Regions from separate parts of the Homo sapiens genome. Here region 2 is linked to region 1. Evidence: promoter capture Hi-C in human tissues and cell types (Jung and others, 2019). All regions are on one chromosome and are shown on one strand. Each heading gives the region's core, a stretch centred on a gene start or on the middle of the fragment in contact. The rest is flanking DNA. Distances are from core to core; before and after follow the strand shown. Region 1 holds the start of RABL2B (RAB, member of RAS oncogene family like 2B). Region 2 overlaps LOC124905149 (a long non-coding RNA gene).

Evidence for each region. Contacts are between HindIII fragments. The study calls those that stand out against the background at their distance.
Region 2: a fragment that was not itself captured here is called in contact with the fragment with the promoter of RABL2B in region 1 in 2 of the 25 tissues and cell types used here (dorsolateral prefrontal cortex and mesenchymal stem cells).

What each region holds. Positions count from the first base shown.
Region 1 is chr22:50,781,771-50,785,922 of GRCh38, forward strand. It overlaps RABL2B (RAB, member of RAS oncogene family like 2B), which reads right to left and starts at 1,866. Exons shown (of 9, transcript NM_001130919.3): 1 at 1,731-1,866; 2 at 418-577. The coding sequence starts at 524. It also overlaps the pseudogene RPL23AP82. RefSeq lists a silencer at 1,798-2,037. The HindIII fragment of the contact is 9,824 bases long and covers 1-3,498 here.
Region 2 is chr22:50,633,620-50,637,771 of GRCh38, forward strand. It overlaps LOC124905149 (a long non-coding RNA gene), which reads left to right. Exons shown (of 2, transcript XR_007068161.1): 1 at 1-1,079; 2 at 1,924-2,387. Among named protein-coding and RNA genes, the nearest start is that of ARSA, 7.5 kb to the left of the region's middle. RefSeq lists enhancers at 1,643-2,159, 2,160-2,674. The HindIII fragment of the contact is 5,037 bases long and covers 1-3,769 here.

The sequences.
Region 1 (4,152 bases), core at 616-3,115:
TCAATCGTCAGTTCTACCCAGTTTTCTCTATTTCAGAGAGTCCCTCCAAGAAAGCATCTTTACCACCTTTACCCAATCTGTCACGGTGGCATAGTCACTTTTGTCTTTCCATTCCCACTCCCCGCCCTTGCCATCCCTCAGCCCACAAACCACATACAATGTCCTCAGTTGCTCCACACGTTCTCTCAGGGCTCAGAGGAAACATTCAAATTCCTCAGTCCTTATGACCTGCCCCCTCCACCTGACACACACAACGGCTCACGTGATTCCCCTCGTTCCCCCATGAACATCTGGGCTCCAGCCAAGACTGCTCCTTCACCAGCCCCAAGAAGCCATGCTCCTCTGCCTCTGGAGGACTTTTTAAATGACCTGGACCCTCTCTGGGGCTGGTATTTATTCCCTAATCTCCCAACATACTTGGATTTGCCCACTGCGCTGTCTCCCAGGCAGATGATCTTCACGTTGTCATCAGCATCATACTTCCCTTGGTCCAACTCACTCGGTTTGGTTTTGTCTTCTGCCATTGGCTCCTAGCTGTAGAGAGGGGTCCAGCCCAAGGGAGGGGAGGGTATTGTCACTGTCTGGGAAGATCAACAAGAGGCTGTTGTCAGAGATAAGTCCCCTCAACCAAATCTCCAGCTGTACCTCCCTCCAGACTGCTTCCCTCAGTGCCAGACTGAGATATGGTATGCAATTGACTACTAGACTTGGAGTAGCAGAGTATGACACACAGGCATCAATAATATGTTATACACAAATAGTTAAGTCCTGCGCACCCCAAATGCTGCTCCTCACGTTACCCATTTGCACAAGACATTCACCAGGCATCCAGTGCCAAAGGCTGTGTGCAACATTATGTCTAGCTCTGTTTTACTCTCCTCACACCTAAATATGACTTTGCAAACATTCCTGAGAATGTAACCACAGTCCAGACTCTTAGCTAGGGGGGCACATAGAAATGATATGATGATGAGACAGCAGCAATAGGTGAGCCTTACTGGGCATTCACCATGAGCAGACCTTGCACAGGGTTCAGAGGATGGAAGACACAATGATAGCAGAGTCTACTGTGGTGAGAGCTACGACAGAAGTATGCACACGGGTCAGGGGTAGAAAATACCAACAGGGCCCCCGAGTTTTCCTGACTGTGCCACCACACAGCTACTGCTTCTGCACAGCCAGGGACTTCGCCTTGTTTATCCAGGGAGACAATTCCTGGGAAGTGGCAGATGCCTGGAAAGCATGATGAGGGGTCTGCCCCCTTTCACCTGTACCCTGTAGAGAGAGCGACAGAAAGCCAAATCCAGCTTCATGGCTCCATGCTTGAAGACGTTCTTTCTTTTGTTTAGAGATAGGGTCTCACTCTGTCGCCCAGGCTGGAGTGCGGTGGCGCGATCACGGCTCACTGCAGCCTCCAACTCCTGGACTCAAGCGATCCTCCCTCCTCGGCATCCCTGGACTATAGGCGTGAGCCACCGCTTACGGGCGAAGACTTGCTTGTCCGTGTCCTTGCCATCTAAGTGGGTAAGCTATCTTTCGATAAATGTTTTTGGCCACCAACCATGTCCAGGCATCGCCAGGCTGCCCGTCCCGCCCCCCACAACAGCCTCGCGAAGCCACCTTTCCGTGCTTCCCCCGACCCGGACGCCCTCTCGCCCACACCGCTAGGGAGGCCTCGGAGGGGCTGTCCCCGCGTGCTAAGCCAGCCACCGGGGCGGATTTGCCCTCACGTGCGGTTCCGAGTGAGGGCTGGAGAGACCAGGGACGCTGCGGGTCGGCCCCTCGGGCCCTGCCGCCAGTCTGGACTCTGCGCGCTCTCGAACCACGCCCGCCGGCCCAGCTCGCGCCGCAGCGCACTCCACTTCCGGCTCGGCCCGCGTCCTCGCAGCTGCTACGCAACCGCACAAGGACCCCGAGGGAGGCTGCCCGGCCGAAGGCCTGAAGGACCCCGCCGGGGCGCTGGCTGCCCAGCGCGGCGCCTGGCGGGAGGGCCGCAGGGAGTGCGCATGCGGCCGAGTGCGGGACTGGGGCTCCTGGCTGTGGGTGTGGTACCGAGGCTTCAGCGGGTGCCGCCCGCCTAGAGGGAGTGGAGCGGTGAGCACGTCAGGGGTGGGGGGCGCAGGTCAAGCTTTCACCAGTTTTTAATTCTTTGATGGGGTAAATTTGAGCAATTTTCTCGACTTGTCGACATTCGTTATTAACTGAGCAGGAATCAGGAGAGGAACCCGGTCCTCTCCACACAGCCCAGCAGGTACGCCGCCCATGTGCCTGTGGAGAAGAGAGGTTCCTGTGGGGCAGACAGGTGTGGACCAAGTAGCTGCGAAATTTCTTCTGAAGAAAACACACAAGGGGGAAGCGAGTGAGCTCAGTGGAGGAGGGGCGCTACCCCAGGGGACGTCCCCATGCATGGGCTTGTGAACCTCGAATATGTGAGACGGTCTCAGTCAATTTAGAAAGTTTATTTTGCCAAGGTTGAGGACGCACGCCCGTGACACAGCCTCAGGAGGTCTTGACATGTGCCAAAGGTGGCCGGGACACAGCTTGCTTTTATACATGTTAGGGAGACAGGAGACATCAATATATGTAAGATGAACGTTGGTTCCCTCGGGAAAGGCGGGACAACTCGAAGCAGGGAGGGGGCTTCCAGGTCACAGGTAGGTGAGAGACAAACTGTTGTATTCTTTCGGGTTTCTGAATAGCCTCCGCAAAGGAGGCTATCACATATTAACCTATCTCAGTGAGCAGAGGGGTGACTTTGAATAGATGGGGAGGCAGGTTTGCCCTAAGCAGTTCCCAGCTTTTTTCCCTTTAGCTTAGTGATTTTGGGGCCCCCAGATTCATTTTCCTTTCACAGGCTAGACAGCTTTAGGAACTGAAAGGTTCACGAGGCTGTAACGAAGAGTCGAGTTGCTCCAGGTGAGCCTGGGCCACAACAGCACGCAGGACCTGGGCGCCCACGAGGGGCTCCTGGGAGGGTTTGGGAAAGGGATGTGTGAACCCTATCTGAGATGGTTTCAGGTAATTTAGAAAGAGGTGCACCCGTGACACAGCCTCAGGAGGTCTTGACGACATGTGCCCAAGGTGGTCAGGGCACAGCTTGGTTTTAGGGAGACATGAGACATCAATCAATATATGTAAGAAGTACGTTGCTTCCATCCAGAAAGCTGGGGACAACTGGAAGCAGGGAGGGGGCTTCCAAGGTCACAGGTAGGTGAGAGACAAAGGTTGCATTGTTTTGAGTTTCTGATTAGCCTCTCCAAAGCAGGGAATCAGATATGCACCTATCTTAGTGAGGAGATAGGTGACTTGGAATAGAAAGGGAGGCAGGTTTGCCCTGAGCAGTTCCCAGCTTGACTTTTCCTTTAGCTTAGTAATTTTGGGTCCCCAAAATTTTCCTTTCAGAGAGCCTACGACTAGATTTGCATCTTTACGTCCTGCGCGGAGGCTGCTACACACATGCAGAAGTCATGCTGGTGGCCTGGACAGTGAAGGGAGAGAAGTGGATTTGGGAGACATTTAGGAGGTAAGATTGCTAGGACCTTGGTGATAGCTTGGACATGGAGGGTGGAGGAGGAGGGGTGTCTAGCAGATAATGCTCTTAGGTTACCACCTGGGATATTAGGGAGAGTGAGCAGGCTGTTTTTTGTTTCTTAGGCAGAACTTGGTTTTGCGGTGCAGTAGGGTGCCTGGAGCCGAAAGCCTGACTTCCTCATACAGGCCAGACCCCACATGTGACTGCCAGGCCACTTTGAGGCTGAGAGAGATGGTTTTGTCTGGCCTCTGTCCTGCACGTGTTTACGGATGACCTCTGTGTTGGCAGATTTGGGGGTCCGCCAGATAGGATCCTGTGAAGAGACCTCAAAGGTCTTTAGTCCAATCTATAAAACATTTTTATGTTGATTATATCATTTCCACAATCAAAGATGAAGAATATATACAGAGGTGTATTTAGTGAATAAGGTTGATGGTGCACCTGCGCTAGGCAGTGTTTTAGTTCGTTGAGACACCAGGGAGTTGAGACAATCCTTTACCTCAGAGTTTTGTGTCTGTAAGTCCTGCTGTTGAGAGGTGTGTGTGTTAAAATGTCTGATTTGGGCAGGTGAGATCTGGGCCCTCTGTAAGGTTAGGTAACAGGAGGTTGGTGTCCAGCAA
Region 2 (4,152 bases), core at 1-2,500, 150 kb before region 1:
GATGAGAAAAATGTAAAATTGTATTGGCCTTTTAGAACCTTAACATTTTTCCAAATTGGCTCCTCTAAGGATTGCAGTCCCATTTACTTCTACCCCTCCGTGCTCCTCCATCCCCTTTGCCATCTTTGGTACCTAATGAAGGGATCTACAAGGGACTTCTGATGACTTAGAGACCCCTTGGGGAACGCAAAGAAAGGTGCCACGCGCCCCGCTTTTGTCTTCCTTATGGGGCCTGAGGAGTCGTGGGTAGCTTCCTCTCGGGTCTAAAGCTTGGCTGTCTTTGGCACTGTGTCACTGGATCTCTTTGGCTTTGGGGGTACCAGGGATTACGTTGCACTGTGAGACAGTGCATGACCTGAGTGTGTGTGATGGCCGGCAGGTCACTGGCGAGGGCTGCCTCACAGTTTTGGAGGTGGCTGAAAGCAGTTGTAGTGAATGGTTGTTCCTGCAGTGGCTGCTTGTTTCTCTGCATGTTTAGATGAGAAAGGCACAATCTGAACACTTGGAGACTATGGAAGCACTTGGCGTCAAAGGCTGAGACTCCGTGGGCTGATTGCTGTGGGTCTCCCACCAGCCTCAGGGGAATGTCTTCATAGTGAGGTACACTGTGGAAACACTGTATGGCTTTGTCTCATATATATCTCTTTTTAGAGGGAACTCAGCATTCAGTGTAAATGTGGGATCCTTGATTTTAAAAGATCTAGATGCTCTGCCTTCCAGCTGCACCTGTTTTTCACATATTTAAATATTAGGTCCTCCAAACTGCAAATGCTTTTTTGGCCATGTTCATTAATGAGCTCTGTCCTGAGCCCAGTGGTCTAGTTCAAAAATGGAGAATAAATTAATAGCCACATATTTAAATAACATTGTTGTCCTTATAAAATCCTGTGGTGAATTTCTATGACTTTTTGTTACCTCAGCATCCATTTAAAATCTTCCTTTAACATACTAAATCAAAGCTTAAACTTTCTCCCTGTGGAATTGCTTGAACCAAGGAGGCAGAGGTTGCAGTGAGTCAAGATCGTGCCGTTGCACTCCAACCTGGGCGACAGAGCAAGACTCCGTCTTGAAAAAATTCAGTAAATAAAAATAATTTTTTTTTCTCTGTGCTTCAAGATGTAAATTTGTTGCCTTGTTTTCTCTAAAACTTGGTAAGGGCTTTGGCCGTGTGAGACAGATAAATTTTACCTTGTTCCATTTACAGAGGCACAATTTTAAGTATCCTTTTAAACTAGTGATTTTTACCCGATTCGTGGCTAAAATCTTAAAACTAAAGCTATAAAATCTTGATTTGTGTCTGTATTTTTATGTGTACATGCCTGTTTGTATATTATGTACATAGTAGCAAATTGACGTATAAATAAATAAGTGCTCATGAATGATGTAACTAAACCCAGATGCTTTTCTAGTTCATGTGACTAGTAATCTTTGGCAAATAAACTTAGTTTTAAAATTGTTGCTGCTGGGTGCAGTGGCTCACACCTGTAATCCCAGCACTTTGGGAGGCTGAGGCGGGCAAATCACGAGGTCAAGAGATCGAGACCATCCTGGCCAACATGGTGAAACCCCGTCTCTACTAAAAATACAAAAATTAGCCAGGCGTGGTGGCATGCGCCTGTAGTCCTAGCTACTCAGGAGGCTGAGGCAGGAGAATCACTTGAACCTGGGAGGTAGAGGTTGCAGTGAGCCGAGACTGCACTACTGCACTCTAGCCTGGGTGACAGAGTGAGACTCCATCTCAAAAAAAAAAATGATGCTAAAATTAGAATATCTTCAAAGTCGTCAGTCTTAAATATAATTGAGACATCTTTGCTTGGGCCCATTGGTCGGACAGGTTCAGACAGTCTCTGTTAGATGCTTTAAGGTCATAAAATTTGCTTCTGTCATATTTCTGATACTTGCTTAATTTGTCTGTGAACTTAGGTCTTTGGCTTTGAGCCTCTACATTCTGGGGTCAAGACAAGTGGACATGATGTGGCCTGGAGACATCTGTGTGTCCGCAGTACCTAAGCCCCATCCTCCCTGGCCCAGCTGTACCCCCCGGTCATGCTGTTTGTCTGCAGTGCCCGAGCCCCGTCCTCCCTAGCCCAGCTGTGCCCCCCGGCCATACTGTGTGTCTGCAGTGCCTGAGCCCCGTCCTCCCTAGCCCAGCTGTGCGCCCCAGCCATGCTGTGTGTCTGCAGTGCCCGAGCATTGTCCTCTCTTGCCCAGCTGTGCCCCCCGGTCATGCTGTGTGTCTGCAGTGCCCGAGCATTGTCCTCCCTGGCCCAGCTGTGCCCCCCGGTCATGCTGGGAGGGGTTGAGTCCTCCAGGCATTGTCTTTGTAGTAGCCCATTCTCACACTGCTAATAAAGACATACCTGAGACTGGGTGATTTGTAAAGGAAAGAGGTTTAATTGACTCACAGTTCAGCGTGGCTGGGAAGCCTCAGGAAACTTACAATCATGGCGGAAGAGGAAGCAAACACGTTCTTCACATGAGGTCAGGAAGGAGGTGTGCAGAGCGAAGAGTGGGGAAGCACCTCATGAAACCATGAGACCTCGTGAGAACTCACTAGCACAAAAACAGCGTGGGGGAACCGCCCCCTTCATCTAATCACCTCCCACTGGGTCCCTCCCACAACACCTGTGGATTTTGGGAACTACAGTTCAAGATGAGATTTGGGTGGGGACACAGCCAAACCATATCAGTCTTTAAAGCTCTGTCCTTTGTCCTGGGCTTTGCATCTTTAATAACAATTAAAATTGCTTACTTCCCATGTTTTTCACTGAAAATTAGGCTTCCTAAGAGTTAACATTGTAATTAATATATGTATTTAAAACTACTAGATATAAGAGAAACACTTCTGTATGCAAAGTTTATAAGAAAGTAGGATGTGTTTTTGGTAAGGAAGGTTATAAAGAAGGCATGAGAATGAGGTTTTTGTTAAAGGAAAAGTAATTTTGTCTAGTTTTGATGTTTTTAAAGGTTGTTTTAAATTAAAGGAATAAAAAAATGATAGATAAAACTGAATATATATAGAAAGTTTGAGAAACAAAGAATGGAACAAATTTTAAGAGGTTATTAAAGGTTTATGGAAATCTTATGTGGTCAAAGCTGATTGAGATTGAATGGATCTGTTTTTAAGTTTTTATTAAAATTAGCTTTAGTATTAATAATATGCTAATGTAAAGGTAGAATTTAGTTTTCATTTTTGAGTAAGATTTTCATGTAGTATTAATAAGAGACAGTAAAAGATTTTTGTTTACCTTTTGAGTAAACTACAAGAAAAGGAGGAGTAGGCCCGGTACGGTGGTTCACACCTGTAATCCCAGCACTTTGGGAGGCCGAGGTGGGTGGATCACCTGAGGTCAGGCGTTTGAGACTAGCCTGGCCAAGATGGTGAAACCCCATCTCTACTAAAAATACAAAAATTAGCCAGGCGTGGTGGCGCCTGCCTGTAGTCCCAGCTACTCAGGAGGCCGAGGCAGGAGAATCGCTTGAACCCGGGAGGCGGAGGTTGCAGTGAGCTGAGATTGTGCCACTGCACTCCAGCCTGGGCAACAAGAGTGAGACTCTGTCTCACAAAAAAAAAGGAGGAGTAGAGAGTTTGCCTCATGCTGTCTTTATTTATTTATTTATTATTTTGGAGACAGGATCTTGCTGTGCCACCCAGGCTCATCTCGAACTCCTGAGCTCAAGCAGCCCTCCTGCCTTGGTCTCCCAAAGTGCAGGGATTACAGGTATGAGCCACCACGCCTGGCTCAAAATTATAATTATTATGTTAAATTGTTGTATGTCACACAAAAAAACAAATCTCCTTGTGAATTGCATCTGTAACCATCATTAGTCTAAGTCATCTGTCATCCACAGTCAATTACTGTTTTACTTTGATTCTTTTTAAAAAGCAGCTTATAATTAGCTACAGTTCAAGACTTGCTTCTTCCTCAAGGAAACTCATGTAAAGTACCCAGACAAGTACTTTTTTTTTTTTTTTTTTTTTTTGGTTTTTGGTTTTTTTTTTTTGAGACCGATCTCGCTCTGTCGCCCAGGCTGGAGTGTAGTGGCGCGGTCTTGGCTCACTGCAAGCTCCGTCTCCCGGGTTCATGCCATTCTCCTGCCTTAGCCTCCTGAGTAGCTGGTACTACAGGCGCCCGCCACCACACGTGGCTG